3 separate regions of the Homo sapiens genome follow, and regions 1 and 2 are each linked to region 3. Evidence: promoter capture Hi-C in human tissues and cell types (Jung and others, 2019). All regions are on one chromosome and are shown on one strand. Each heading gives the region's core, a stretch centred on a gene start or on the middle of the fragment in contact. The rest is flanking DNA. Distances are from core to core; before and after follow the strand shown. Region 1 has its middle 170 kb from the start of SS18. Region 2 overlaps KCTD1 (potassium channel tetramerization domain containing 1). Region 3 holds the start of TAF4B (TATA-box binding protein associated factor 4b).

What was found. The method cuts DNA at HindIII sites, captures the fragments that hold promoters and counts their contacts. A contact is called where the count stands out against the background at its distance.
Region 1: a contact is called between a fragment that was not itself captured here and the fragment with the promoter of TAF4B in region 3, in 2 of the 25 tissues and cell types used here (lymphoblastoid cells and spleen).
Region 2: a contact is called between a fragment that was not itself captured here and the fragment with the promoter of TAF4B in region 3, in 1 of the 25 tissues and cell types used here (dorsolateral prefrontal cortex).

The regions. Positions count from the first base shown.
Region 1 is chr18:25,915,927-25,920,150 of GRCh38, reverse strand. No RefSeq gene overlaps it. Among named protein-coding and RNA genes, the nearest start is that of SS18, 170 kb to the left of the region's middle. The HindIII fragment of the contact is 3,722 bases long and covers 279-4,000 here.
Region 2 is chr18:26,540,993-26,545,617 of GRCh38, reverse strand. The region is part of intron 1 of KCTD1 (potassium channel tetramerization domain containing 1); the gene reads left to right. Among named protein-coding and RNA genes, the nearest start is that of KCTD1, 5.2 kb to the left of the region's middle. The HindIII fragment of the contact is 6,485 bases long and covers 1-4,625 here.
Region 3 is chr18:26,224,234-26,228,321 of GRCh38, reverse strand. It overlaps TAF4B (TATA-box binding protein associated factor 4b), which reads right to left and starts at 1,877. Exons shown (of 15, transcript NM_005640.3): 1 at 1,046-1,877. The coding sequence starts at 1,388. RefSeq lists a silencer at 1,238-1,397 and enhancers at 2,048-2,147, 2,178-2,247. The HindIII fragment of the contact is 12,633 bases long and covers 1-4,088 here.

The DNA.
Region 1 (4,224 bases), core at 890-3,389, 310 kb after region 3:
TCGGCAAAGTAAAAATCAATGGGTTAAATATTAACTTGTTGAATTAATTAAAATTCATTTTCATATGCTAAATAAACAATGAATAACACTTTCCATACCAAACAAATAAGCATACTTATTAATCTCAAGGTTAAAGATTATGTGCCTATAAAGTATTATTTATAAAGTAGAACCTCACCAGAGAGCTTCTGGCAAATGATCTACCCAGGGCTCAATGTCATCGTGACAAAATACTGATTAAGTGTAAAGATTATAAGAAAAAACCTTCACTCCAGCCTGGGTAGTATTTATATTCTTGGTTCCTTTGAGGTATCTGAGTTTTCAGTATCTTGAGGTTTCTTCCTTATCTTTATAAATAAAATGTGAAAGACTTGTTCAGTGGTTTTTCTCAATATTTTCTTTATAGTCCTGCTGTTAAAAATCTGTAGCTAGGCCCAGTGGTGTGCACTCTCAGCTACTTGGGAAGTGGAGGCCAGAGGATTGCTTGAGCCCAGGAGTTGAAGACCAGCCTGGGCAACATAGCAAGACCCCAGCGCTTAAAAAAATTAAAAAAAAAAAAAAACAAACAAAACCTTATGATCTCTGATTTTCACTTTAATTTTAATTGAGGCTAAATTAAGGAAATTTGGGCTTATACTTTTTTTGTGGTTTACTGGTAGTCTTCTTTTTCTTAGTGATTTACCAGGGGGCTTTATATTAATATATTAATATGCTAACTTTTTGTCATTTATGCTGCAAACATTTTCTTCTATATGTTGTTTGTAAATCACCTTGCAGTGATCTTTTTTGTTTTAGAGAATTTTTGTGTTGTACAATGTACAGTCTTTGATTTGATCATTTCTGGCTTTTGTATACATTTAAAGAGGCTTCCTTCAAAACTGGAATTATAAAAATAGTTACCTATGTTTTCTTTTATTATTTTCAAGGCTTCATAATAATTTTTAAGTCTGATTTATGTGGAATTTATTTTAGTATAATAAATAAGTTAGGAATTCAAGCTTATTTATTTGGGACATAGCTACCCTATCGTTTTAGTAAAATTTAGTAAAATTGAGTTTTCCTTTCACCACTGCTTTAAAATGCCACCTTAATCGTCTACTAAATTTTTATGTCTGCTTGCCTCACACGATGGCCTGTTAGCTCAATTGGTTAGAGTGTGGTGCCAATATCTCCTTGCCTCTATTTGTGGAGTTTCTATTGGATTAACTCATCTGTTGGTCTATATACCTGTGCCACTAGCTCACTTTAAGAATGACTACAGCTTGGCCGGGCATGGTGGCTCCCGCCTGTAATCCCAGGATTTTGGGAGGCTGAGGCAGGCGGATCACCTGAGGTCAGGAGTTTGAGACCAGCCTGGCCAACAGAGCGAAACCCTGTCTCTAGAAAAAATACAAAAATTAGCTGGGTGTGGTGGCAGGCACCTCTAATCCCACCTACTCGGGAGGCTAAGGCAGGAGAATCCCTTGAACCTGGGAGTTGGAGGGTGCAGTGAGCTGAGATTGCGCCATTGCACTCCAGCCTGGGCAACAGAACGAGAATCCATCTCAGGAAAAAAAAAATGACTACAGCTCTAAGTACATTGTAATAATTGGTAGCACAAGTTCTTACACTTTCCAAGAATGTCTGGCTCTTCTTTCATTTTCGTTCTTTCAGATGGATTTTTAAAACAGTACTATCACCAGCCAGGCATTTGATTTGTTTATTATTTTTTTTTCTGTATTGATGTTTTAAGAAAATAAATTATAAACATAACATAAGCTTGCTATAACAAATTCAAACAATACAAACCAGTGGAAAATAAGCCTCGAACCACCTTCCCAAAACCCCACCCTTAACAGCACATTCCAGCCATCGCTCCTGCCAGCTGTTTGTTTAGGATTCTTTTGGACTTTCTCTTACTCTTAAGCATAAGCACACTTCATGAAGTGCCCCCAAATCCCAGTGATATTTTGACTGGGATTTCTCAATAAATATTTGTAACAAAATATTTTCATTCACATTTCTGGCTTTCAAGTCGTGTAATGCCTGAGACTTTCAGTTTCTTATATGTACACTGTTACAACACTACTTATCTACAACACAGAAATTGCATGAGACAATGCGTGATAATAAAACACGGTTCAAAAATATCTGATCATGGCATTTCTCAAAGTATGTTCTGTAATACATAGATCCTGCAATATACTCTGCAAAGAAAATAAGAGTTCCCTGGGCAAATGAGTTTGGAACATTAGGTGGTATATTTTCTTTTTTGGATATTTGTAATTCAGGGCAACATATTAGAAACCCTTAGTTCTATAAAAAAGGTTTAACTTTGTCTAACCAATGTTTTCCAAACTTGTTTGATCAGGGAAAGTATTTTGCCTATTGACACGATGCTCATAAAACACCATTTGGGAGATGCTGAGTTAGACAGATTGGATCAGCTCTTGGCTGGGGTGGGGTTGTGAAGAACCTAGAATAACTCCCAGGTCTCTGGCTTTAAGTGAATGATTGGTGATGTCACTGACTGAGGTGAAGGATAGAAGTGGAGGATCAATTTTGGACATATTGAGTTTCAATTCCTCTGGCAGGTTTGAATGGAAATGTTTAGTAAGCTGAGAATATATAGGTCTGGGACTCAGGTGACAGGTCATCACTAGAGAAACGTGGGTTAGAAAGTTTGCTTTGGATTAAAGTGTGTTGTCTAAAACAGCTCAGTTAAAAATGCACATATATTACCTAGGAAGGGTAAGCATTAAATTATTAATACATATTATATTATCATATTAGCTTACTATCATTTTAAAGCAGAGATCAGGCCCCTGAAGGAATGGAAATCAGGAATGGTGAATTTTGAGTGGAAGTCGGCCAAGAAAGAGTCTGAAGTTGTGATTTTTACCTTCTGTGGGCCCTTTTTCAATGCTAAAAAAATTTGCCAATCTCCCCACTGCCCTCACATATTAAACTTTTAATATCTTTTGACTGAGAAAATATGTCCTGACTATAACTACTATGACTTAATGTAGTTATAGTCAGGACATATTGTTCTGTACATAGAGGACATGTAAATGTATGGAATAGGTTCACATTTAGCAGGGTGTTTATCCTGCTTCCGGACAGTCAGCGTTGCTGTCCATATGGACTTCTGATCCTCCTGCCACTCCTGTGGTTCTGTTACTGAGACACCAGGGGTTCAGTCTAGGTCCTGCTGCTCACCACCCAGAAAGCCAATGACTGAGATGATCAGTATTGCCAAGGATGAAGGCTTTAATTTGGTGCTGCAGCCAAGGAGATGGGAGATCAGTCTCAAATCCTCTCCTTGACCGACTAAAAGTAGGGTTTCATACAGGAGGGAGGAAATGAAAACAAGAGCTAGGGAGGGGCAAGGAAGGATGATGATGAAGGAGGGGTCCAGCATCTCATTGTCTGGATGCCGTGATCTGGTGAGTTTCAGGTCTTTGATACTTTTTTTTGACAGGCTTGAAGGTCCTTTCCTGAGGAAAAAACAGATACAACAAATGTAAGGTTCAAGCTTTAAGACCAGCAGGGTCAATTTATATGTTTATCCAAAAAACTATCTGTGGGATTATTGGGTCCTTTTCAGTTCCAGGCTAAGGCAGATTTATAAGATGTCACTTTTAGTTCTGAGTAAACACTGCGATCTCCTGCTTACTCAGGCTCATGTCAAATTCAAACTAGAAGCTGAGGGAGAGAAAGATGATTGTACAGTTGTTAGGTCAGTCATCTGACTATGTTTCAGCCTGGGTTCATTTTAAGTAAGAGAAGATGTGGGTATGTGGGAAGAAGCAAGACTGGACTCTTGGCTTGGATTTATCCCACCACTAATGAGATGACCTCAGAGAAACCTCACTGCCTCTTTTGCCTTAACTCTCAAAATGGGATAATAGCAATAACTTTTCCTCCTTCCTGGGCCTTTGTACCGAAGTCAGTAAACTAAATAGTTGTGCAAGTGAGTAGGAAAGTTAAAAGTGCTCTAAAATGTGAGGTATTTTCATGCCTGCATTTTAATATGGCTACCACTAGGTGCCCCGAAGGTAGCAATTCCCCGGGAGGGAGTTCAATCTTCTAGGTTCACCATAGGGTGGACTCCATTTAACCTGTGTATTCTAGTTGATTAGGTTATTGTGTGTAGATTGCAGGAATTTCAAGCTCTACTCCATCTTTTTCCTTCTGATATAATTTTAACGAGATTCCCTCATTCTTTTATTGCATGGCAGGCTA
Region 2 (4,625 bases), core at 988-3,487, 320 kb before region 3:
GCAGAAGTAGGAATTTTGCAGGTCTGAAGGTATAGTGCAGGCCCTCCAGGAACATATGTCAGGTACCTCTGTGCTTTTTCCAAAGTGGAAATTCCAGTTCTGGACACACTGACCCTTTCAAACGTTTACCAGCTAATGGGCAAGCCTCAAGGCCAACTGAGAAAGGGGCTGCGAGTGGTAATATAAACACCAAAGTTCTCTAAAATACACAAGACCTGTAGGCTATGTGTCTTCTGTACTTCAGGTGTGTAGTCTATTTCTGACAGGTTGTGTTAGTGAATTTTAAGAATGGAGAGGAGAATTTAGGGTTTGCTTTTTCTTTGAAAGCAAAAATAAATGTTCATATTCTTCTGATACAGTAAAAACCCTTGAAATGCCCTAATTTAGAATAGCACCTGATTAATTAAGAGTTAAAAGTCTAAGAAAGTTTATTAAGGCGTGCATGGCCTTGGGATAACAATGAAACCATTTGTCTACTGGCATCTGTCTGCTGGTTTCTTGACACCAGTGTAATATAGAATTGTGACGTAAAGAACCACAAAATATAAGAGGGTTTCGTTTCATTGGTTTTGTTTTGTTCTAAGGAATGCAGTCTTTCAGTCATTATCTTTTATTTACCTGAGTAAAATAAATCAGTTCCAAAAAACTGTATACTGATGCTTTTATTATTCTTGCATTATTGTCAGGTAACTCCTAAGTTAAATATAGATTTGAGTGTCCATATATGGCTTATATGATTATTATGGCTCTCAAACAAGATCTTAGCTCCAAGTCCCTGTTAGTTAAAACACTACAAAAAGTTTTCAGTTTGCACATTTTTAGTAGTCAGCTTTTCACTTATGAAGTCTGAGCAGTCGAAGTATTGCTCAGTAGAAAGCTGAGAGCAAACTTTTTCCTTCTTTGTATATTAAAATCACTGTAAGAGTTGAGGTTCAGTGCATTTCCTGGGGCTTAATGCCTAGCTGAGGTTGCTGGCCTGTGGCATTGCTTTGGGTCATCAACTCTTCTGGCTGGTCATTAATCCGCAGGAAATGCCCTGTGCAGCTCCAGCTTCAGTCATTATTACTTAATCATAAACATAGGCTCTCTAGCCTAATACTGACTGGACTTTATCAAGTAGTGTCATACGGAATTCCACTGTTGACCATCTTAGAGACATCTCGATAACAGACAGGTCACACACTGATGTTTTGATTTTCTACTAATGTTGCAAGTTTCCCTAAAGATGAAGAGCCTGCTTCTTTAAATGCATTTACTCTTTTTACTTCTTGAGGGTGTTGTTAAGTATATTATTTATGGGACTGGTTAAAAAATGAATGCATTCAAGGATTAACAAAGATTATGGAATGTGTGATTGCTCATGTGAAGTATCTGGCTTTTGGGGGGAGTGAGGAATTATGGCGATGGTTGTGATGGTCGCTTTAACTGGTCCACTCTTTAATTCTCTTGAATGGTTGTGTTAAAAGTAAAGTGTAGTTTTAGTTCCCTTGTCCCCCAAATAGCTATTGTGATCTAAAATGATCCAGTTATTGGTACGGTTTGCAAGCTGCCAGGTGGAGGTCATGTAGTCCATTTTAAACTGCTTACCACTGTATCGTCCATCCTTATAACTATTCTCTTTGCATAAAAATAGAGCATTTTTCCTACCTCAGAGAACAGTACTTCAGTTTAGAGGGATGATAGAGATTTATAATTTTGTTCTTTATCATTCTCAGAGGAGAAAATACTAATAAAGTTTAGATTCTGAATGTCATAGTTTTGTCACTACAGTTTTTGTAGACATGTCTCTCTCCTGTGCTAAACAAAAGTGTGAAGCATTTGCAAGCTGTGACAAAGGTGTCTTTAGTTGCACTTGCTTGACCCTAACCTAGATTATTTCCAGAAATACTTTTAAGGAATTCTGTAGAGAGGACATCTATTAGTGGAAAGATTTTGGGGGCTGGTACACATCCCCTGTTTGTGTTTTATTGTCTTCAGTGTGGGCCGTTGGTCCTTATAGTTAGCAGAGTGGAAACTGCAGCAGGCTGCAAGCAGGCTGACACAGTTAGTTGTTCATTAACTTACCTTTGAGGAGAAGCCAGAGGCTGACAGCTCAGGGAATCCACTCAGGTGCTATAGGGGCAAGGAAGAAGGAATATTTAATGTATCTACTTAATAGTGAAAGGCATGCATTTTATGTATTATTGAAATAACTGCTAAGGTCCTATTTTGAATTTGAAGACTAAGAGGGAGGGATGTTCTTTATTTCTTATAGATGGAATCAAATTTTTATAAACATGAAAGGAGTATAGCGATTGTAACAAGACTTCTTGCCATGGTTATTTGGAGCTATTAAGATTAACTGCCTTTTAAAGAGTGGGTATTTTTCTGATTTTCAATATTAGTTTGTGGCTACATTCCTTTTTCTACTGCAAGAATGTTTGCTCTCCTTTATGAAAAGTTCAAGTTGGTGGAGAAACTAAATGTTTTGTACATAAGTATATAACTTTCTTCATTCAGGAAGTAGTTACTGAGCGCCTACTGTTTTGGCTTTTGTACCAGGAGTCTATAAATTAATCGTTTTCCACCTGGCAAGTAGTCTCATTGGCAAAATTTTGGCTTCTTTATCTGTTTAAACTAGATCAAAATAAAGACAGTTAAAAGGTGATGCACTCAGTGTTTTGCAGCAGTCATTTTGGGAAAGAAATCTGTACCTTTATATTCTCTTCCATGCACTCACATATTAATGTTGTAACCAGTATTCAGGAGTATTATTTTAAATTGATATAAACTCATATCTGATGTCAGTTCACTCTGTACTCAAGCTGACCCATGAAACAGAAAAAGAAATATTTGTTGCCAGGGAGAAAGTGGATCCCATTCATCCAAAACTTAAATCTTTGTATCACCCTGATTTTAAAATTTGACTCCCCAAGCAAATGTCACCAAAAGGCCACCCTCTTGTCATTACTAAGTAGTTTTCAAGCAGGAAGAAGCCTTTGTTTTCCGAGGACCACTAGTTATATGTGAGACCACTTGGATGATCATCCAGGTGGGTCCAGGCCAGTCAAAGCCCTACTTCAGTTATCCAATAAAACTTGAGTTTCAAGACACCTTTTGGTGTTTTAACTGCCATTTTGAAAGCAGAATCGATACAGGAGTTCCTGTGTAGTATGTGTCTTTGAAGTCTTAGGAACGTACATGTAAACTAGTCATCTGTAGGTCTGTCATATGTTAGAACTTTTATTTGTAGAATCGATTTTACTTATCTGTCATTCATTGCATTGTACCAATAGTCAAGTTGCCTTTTTAAAGATTTCTTTGGAGAATTTATATAAGGGATAAGGTAGTATGAATTAATTGGTTCAAAAAAAGGGGATATGGATTGACCTTGATAAACTAACATGAAAGAAAACGTAGCTTTAACATTTGAAACATTGCACAGGCACACTTCTTTAATTAACGTTTTTAGTGCTCTAAGATGCTGAATTCAGTTCATCCACTGTTAACTGAGCATCTTTCTGCTTGCTAAGTGCTGCAGAGAGGAGCAGGATTCAGTCCTTGCCCTCAAGAGGGATTCATAGAGGCTGGGCAATTAGTGGATTTATGCCCTTAAAGCTGAAATAATTCTCTGCTTGCTACATGATCATCAGAGGGGAAACAGGTGAACTCTTAAAGTTTTGGGCCCTATAAAGTTCTTTTGGATTTTCAGATTTATGAAAACTGTTCCTTTGCCTACTCTTCTCTTTCAAGAGAAGATGGGTGCTGAATGGTTTTGAGTCTTTATGACAGCATGAGCTTCTAGATGGCCCAGAAATAAATGATCTTTTCAGCTGTTCGAGATACACTACAGCAAAGGGTATGGGTTGAGATTAAACCTGAATATGAGGTTGTGTTATCTAATGCCCATGACCATAAACTGGATGACAGACCCTGCAATGCCCACACTAGCACTACAGGAAGCTGAACCTAATGAGGCATGTTCTGGGTTTTCAGTGATACTCCAAATTCCTTTCAACACTTTCTTTACAGCCAGACTTCTTACCTTTTAGCTTATAGCATATAGCAACCTGACAGAGCCTTTTCTTTCTCCCTAAAAAAGATCCACTTACATATGACAGCAAACTTTCATTCATGACAGACAGGGTTTTTTTATTTGGCAGGGGTGGATATCATAAATTTTGCCCAAGCTTTGGGTAACAGAATTTTCAAAAATAACAGAGGTGGGAGCTATCTTACAGTATCGTAAGTGAAAAGTGTCTGCGTTTTCTTTGGAGTTTTTAATCATATGTGCTTTTAGGCAACTCCTGCATGTACGTAGTGTGCTTTGGGCTAGCTTTTAACATTTTCACCCCCAATGAGAATTTCCTTTCTCTGAAGACCCTCTCCATCCTGAGGTGTGTGATTCAGCTCCTCTTTCTCCAGGCAGGGACTTTGGTTGTGTTTAATCCTGTGGGCTGCAGGGCAGCAGGAAGATGGTGCAGGCCTCTAGTGATGAGTTCATTTATGTAACCCTGGATAGCTGAGGGAATTGGAGAGACCTGGAAGGAGAGGGCTGAGGATGGACTCAAGCTTCTTAGTGACCCCCACTCCACCAGCCCATTCTGCACCTCCAACCCTGCAGCACCATCTCCACCGGAAGATAG
Region 3 (4,088 bases), core at 628-3,127:
TTATTAGGGGATATAGAATCTTTTGAATCAATGCTTCCCCTTTTTTACCATCTTTGCAGTTCAGAGTTCCAATTACTGCTAAACAAAATTAACAGAAAGCAAACTCCAAGAGACTTTCAGTAAAGAAAGGCTGAACACCCCAAAATCATTCAGCATATTTACAATATGTAAATTATCACAAAGCAAAACCTTTATACAAACCATGAAATACAGCCCAATAGAGTAAAAAGCCCTAGGATAGAAAGTAGTGAAAGACTCATTAACAGTAGCGTTGACACATGGCTTCAATTGCAACTGTAACAATTGCATGACTGATCTGTTTGTCAACTGTGGCACGTGTTCCCAGTCAGGGGTTCTGCTAATTGAAAGTTAGAATCATAAGACATTTAAAGATTGTGCAGGAACAGCATTATTCGTACTTGGTACTAGAAAGCAGTAAACCGATTCTGACTTGGTTAAATTTAAAAATCTCTTTCAGTTGTAATACACAAGAACTTCACTGTTAGGCCGTACGCGGTGGCTCACGCCTGTAATCCCAGCACTTTGGGAGGCCGAGGCGGGAGGATCGATTGGGCCCAGGAGTTCGACGTCGGTGAGCCATGATCGTGTCACTGCACTCCAGACTGGGCGACAGAGCGAAACCATACCTCATTCGTTCATTCATTCATTCATAATTAATAAAATAAGTACAACGCACTTCTACATAATCTAAGCGTATGGAAATCCACGGTATAAACCGGTCCATCCTCCACATGGAAATTAACTTCGGCTATATTATCTCCTCCACCTAAGAGCCAGTGCCTGAAAGCCCCCCCGAATACGCTGATGTAGCTTTTTACTGTATCACTTAGGTGAAAAGATTCTTTCCTTAAATATGAAAAGAAAAACTATGTAGTAATGACACAAAAAGAATATGTTAACTGTAAAGTCAAGATTATGAAATGTTCCCGTGGCTCAGTTTTTTTAGGAGCAATCTGGAGCTGCGAATTTTCCCGTCGCCGCCAGCTGGACCGACAGACAAGGCTGGAAAGGGTTATCAACATACCTGGAGGAAGCTGCAAATTAGCAGGAAACTGGATTGTCGTGGTGTTGGGGGCTTTCACGGCGACTATCTGAGGAGCAGGCAGCCTAGGGCCGCTGCTGACTTTAGGAGGGGCGCTGACCGGAGCCACTTTGGTCACCAGGGTCCCCACGGGGGACCGCAGGGGCTGGGACGCCGTGGGCTCCACGCAGACGCTGACAGGAGCCTTAGTCACGGCGCCCAGGGCCACCGGAGTGCTCTCCACCCGCACCGGCAGCGCCCCGGCCGGGGCCATGGTCACGGTCCCCGAGGCGCTCACAGCAGCCGGGGGAGCGGCGCCGGCGGGTTCGGTGAGGCCGGCGGGCATCCCCCAGGGGCTCAGCGGCAGCTTTGGCGCTGCGGTTCCGGGAGCAGAGGTGAGGGGAGGCTTGGCGCGCGGCAGCCGACTCCGGTGCGGTTCGGGTTCCACAGCATCGCTGGGGAGAGGCGCGGGGGCCGCAGCAGCGAAGTCAGTGACGGGCGCCCGCTGCACGGCAGGACACGCGCGTCCCGGACCTTCCTCTCGTCCGCGCGAGCCTGGGCTGCCCCCGGAGCGACACCCGCCCGACCTCTCGCAGCTTCCTCAGCGGCGCTCACACGTGCGCTGCCTCAGCCCTGCGCCTCAGGCTCGGGTCCCGCTGCGGGGGAGCCTGGACTTGCGGCTCCCGGAAGGTCGTCGCTCACACCTCGAGCCTAACTGCGCAGCTGCTCCCCCGCCAGAAATTTCAAAACTACGAACCCCGAGTGCCCACAGCCCCCTACGCGCGATTGGCACGGCCCCGCCGCGCGGCCACGCCAGCCATGTTTATATAGCCACGCGGAGACCTCGCGCACGCGCCCAGGCCGCCGCCACCGCCCCGGGTTTCCCCGGGATCCGGCCGCGTGATTGGCCAAGGAGCGGAGCCGCGCCCGTGACGTCACTGGGGACGGCTCCAGGGAGCGTTAAAATCTTCCCCAGAATCGCCAGCAAGGAGGGGCGATGCCAGAAACCTATCACGTGGGAGGGGCAAGCTGCACTTGGAAAACTGCGGCATCCGTGTTCCTCTCCTTGTGTCCCCTGTAGTGTGTTCCTCGAAAAGCCAGCACTAGACTATCTCCAGGATTCTATTTTTTAAGGAGAAAATGGGGAGGACTGATTTCCGAGAAGAGTGACTCAATAAGAATTCAATCACGCATTTTCAGTGTTTTTCTCTGCTGTCTTCACACTGAAGCGTTGCTAAAATTCGCAGTTAGAATTGACATTGTAAAAATTAAAATGGCGTATAGTTTTATAGTCTGTGAGATGTGCCTATTTTCATATTTTAGAGTTAAACTGCCTAAAATCTTAAATGGAAAATCGTTTCTTCTTTGGTGCTGCTATAGGTGTCTCTATCACCTCTAAACATTAAAATTGTATGTCTGTCTTCTGAAAAACTTAATGCCTTTTGATATCTATATAATTAGATTCTAGCACTTAGATATTAAGCGTGATCCTAGATATTATCTGGATAAATAAAAGGTGTTGAGTGAATCGATATGAAAAAACTTGCCTGTTTGTAATGCAGTCAGAGAAGATGCCTTAATTTCAAGCTAAAGTCATTATATTGTATGTTTGTAGGAACCAACACTGCACTGAAAGGCGATTTTACAAGTAGGCAGATGCTATGATCTGAATGTTGTGGTGTTTTGTTTTGTTTTGTTTTGTTTTGTTTTGTTTTGGAAACAGGATCTAACTCTGTCACCCAGGCTGGAGTGCAGTGGCACCATTGGCTCATTGCAGCCTCCACCTCCTGGGCTCAAGTGATCATCCTACCCTCCTACCTCAGATTCCCGAGTAGCTGGAACCACAGGGGAGCGGCACTATGCCTAGCAAAAACGGGATCTCGTTATATTGTCCAGGCTGGTCTCCAATTCCTGAGCTCCCGCCTGGGCCTCCCAAAGTGCTAGGATTATACCCCCAACTGAGTGTTAAAATGCTAAAGCTGGAGTTGATAATATTAGAAGGTTGGGCCTTTGAAAGGTGATTAGATCATAAGGGTGGAGCCCTCATGAATGGGATTCCATTCAGGACAAATCATGTTAAAGTGATGAATATGTTAACTTGATTTAATTATTTCACGACACATACAAATGTAACATGATACCTCATAAATACATACAATTATTATTTGTTAGTTAAATACATTAAATAAATAATTTTTTTAAAAAAAGAAACCTCAGAAAGATCCCTCACCCCTTCCAGCAAGTGAGGTTATGGTAAAAAGACTGCTGTCTAGAAAGTAGACTCTCATCAGATACCACATCTGCCTTGATCTTGAACTTCCCAACCTCTGGAATTATGGGACATGAATTTCTCTTTTTATAAGCTACCCAGTTTATGATATTTCATTATAGAAGCCCGAGTGGACTAAAATAGCAGGCAACCTGATGGTTACAGCTCCTGCTTTTCCCCCTCTCTGTAAACGTGTGCCGGCACGTTTAGATAAGATCTACTCACAAGATCTAGTAAAGTCCACACACTTACTACCTTTACTGTCTCTCACTTCTTGACCAGTCTAAATCCATCTCATGACCTAAACCAATCACCCTCCCTTTCTATGGTGAATTCCCTGATCACTTACCTTCTAGCAAATGCCTCAAAGTGGAGTTGGGGAGAGAAAAACTCAATTTATTGAGCACCTCCTGTGTGCTGGTCACCAAGAGATGCATTTCCTTTTTCTAACTGCTTCATTTTACAAACTTAAAAACTGCAGTTAAAAGAGTAATGTTTCCAAGAAGCTGGAATTCAAACTCATCAGTATGATGCCAAAGTACATCTCTTTCCATTACTCCAAAACGTCTGATTAATCATGTATCCCACAGTGCCCTTGGCAAAATGCCTTGAGCATAAAAGGCATTTAATAAATACTTGCTAAGGTAATGAATTGAATGAAGCTATGCAACATTTTCAGTGAAGCAAAATGGTGTAGTGTATTTGAATCTTAGATATGTTCTTCACTAACTGGCCAAATTATCCCCGATTTTTTTCCCTCCATATAGTATGTTTCAA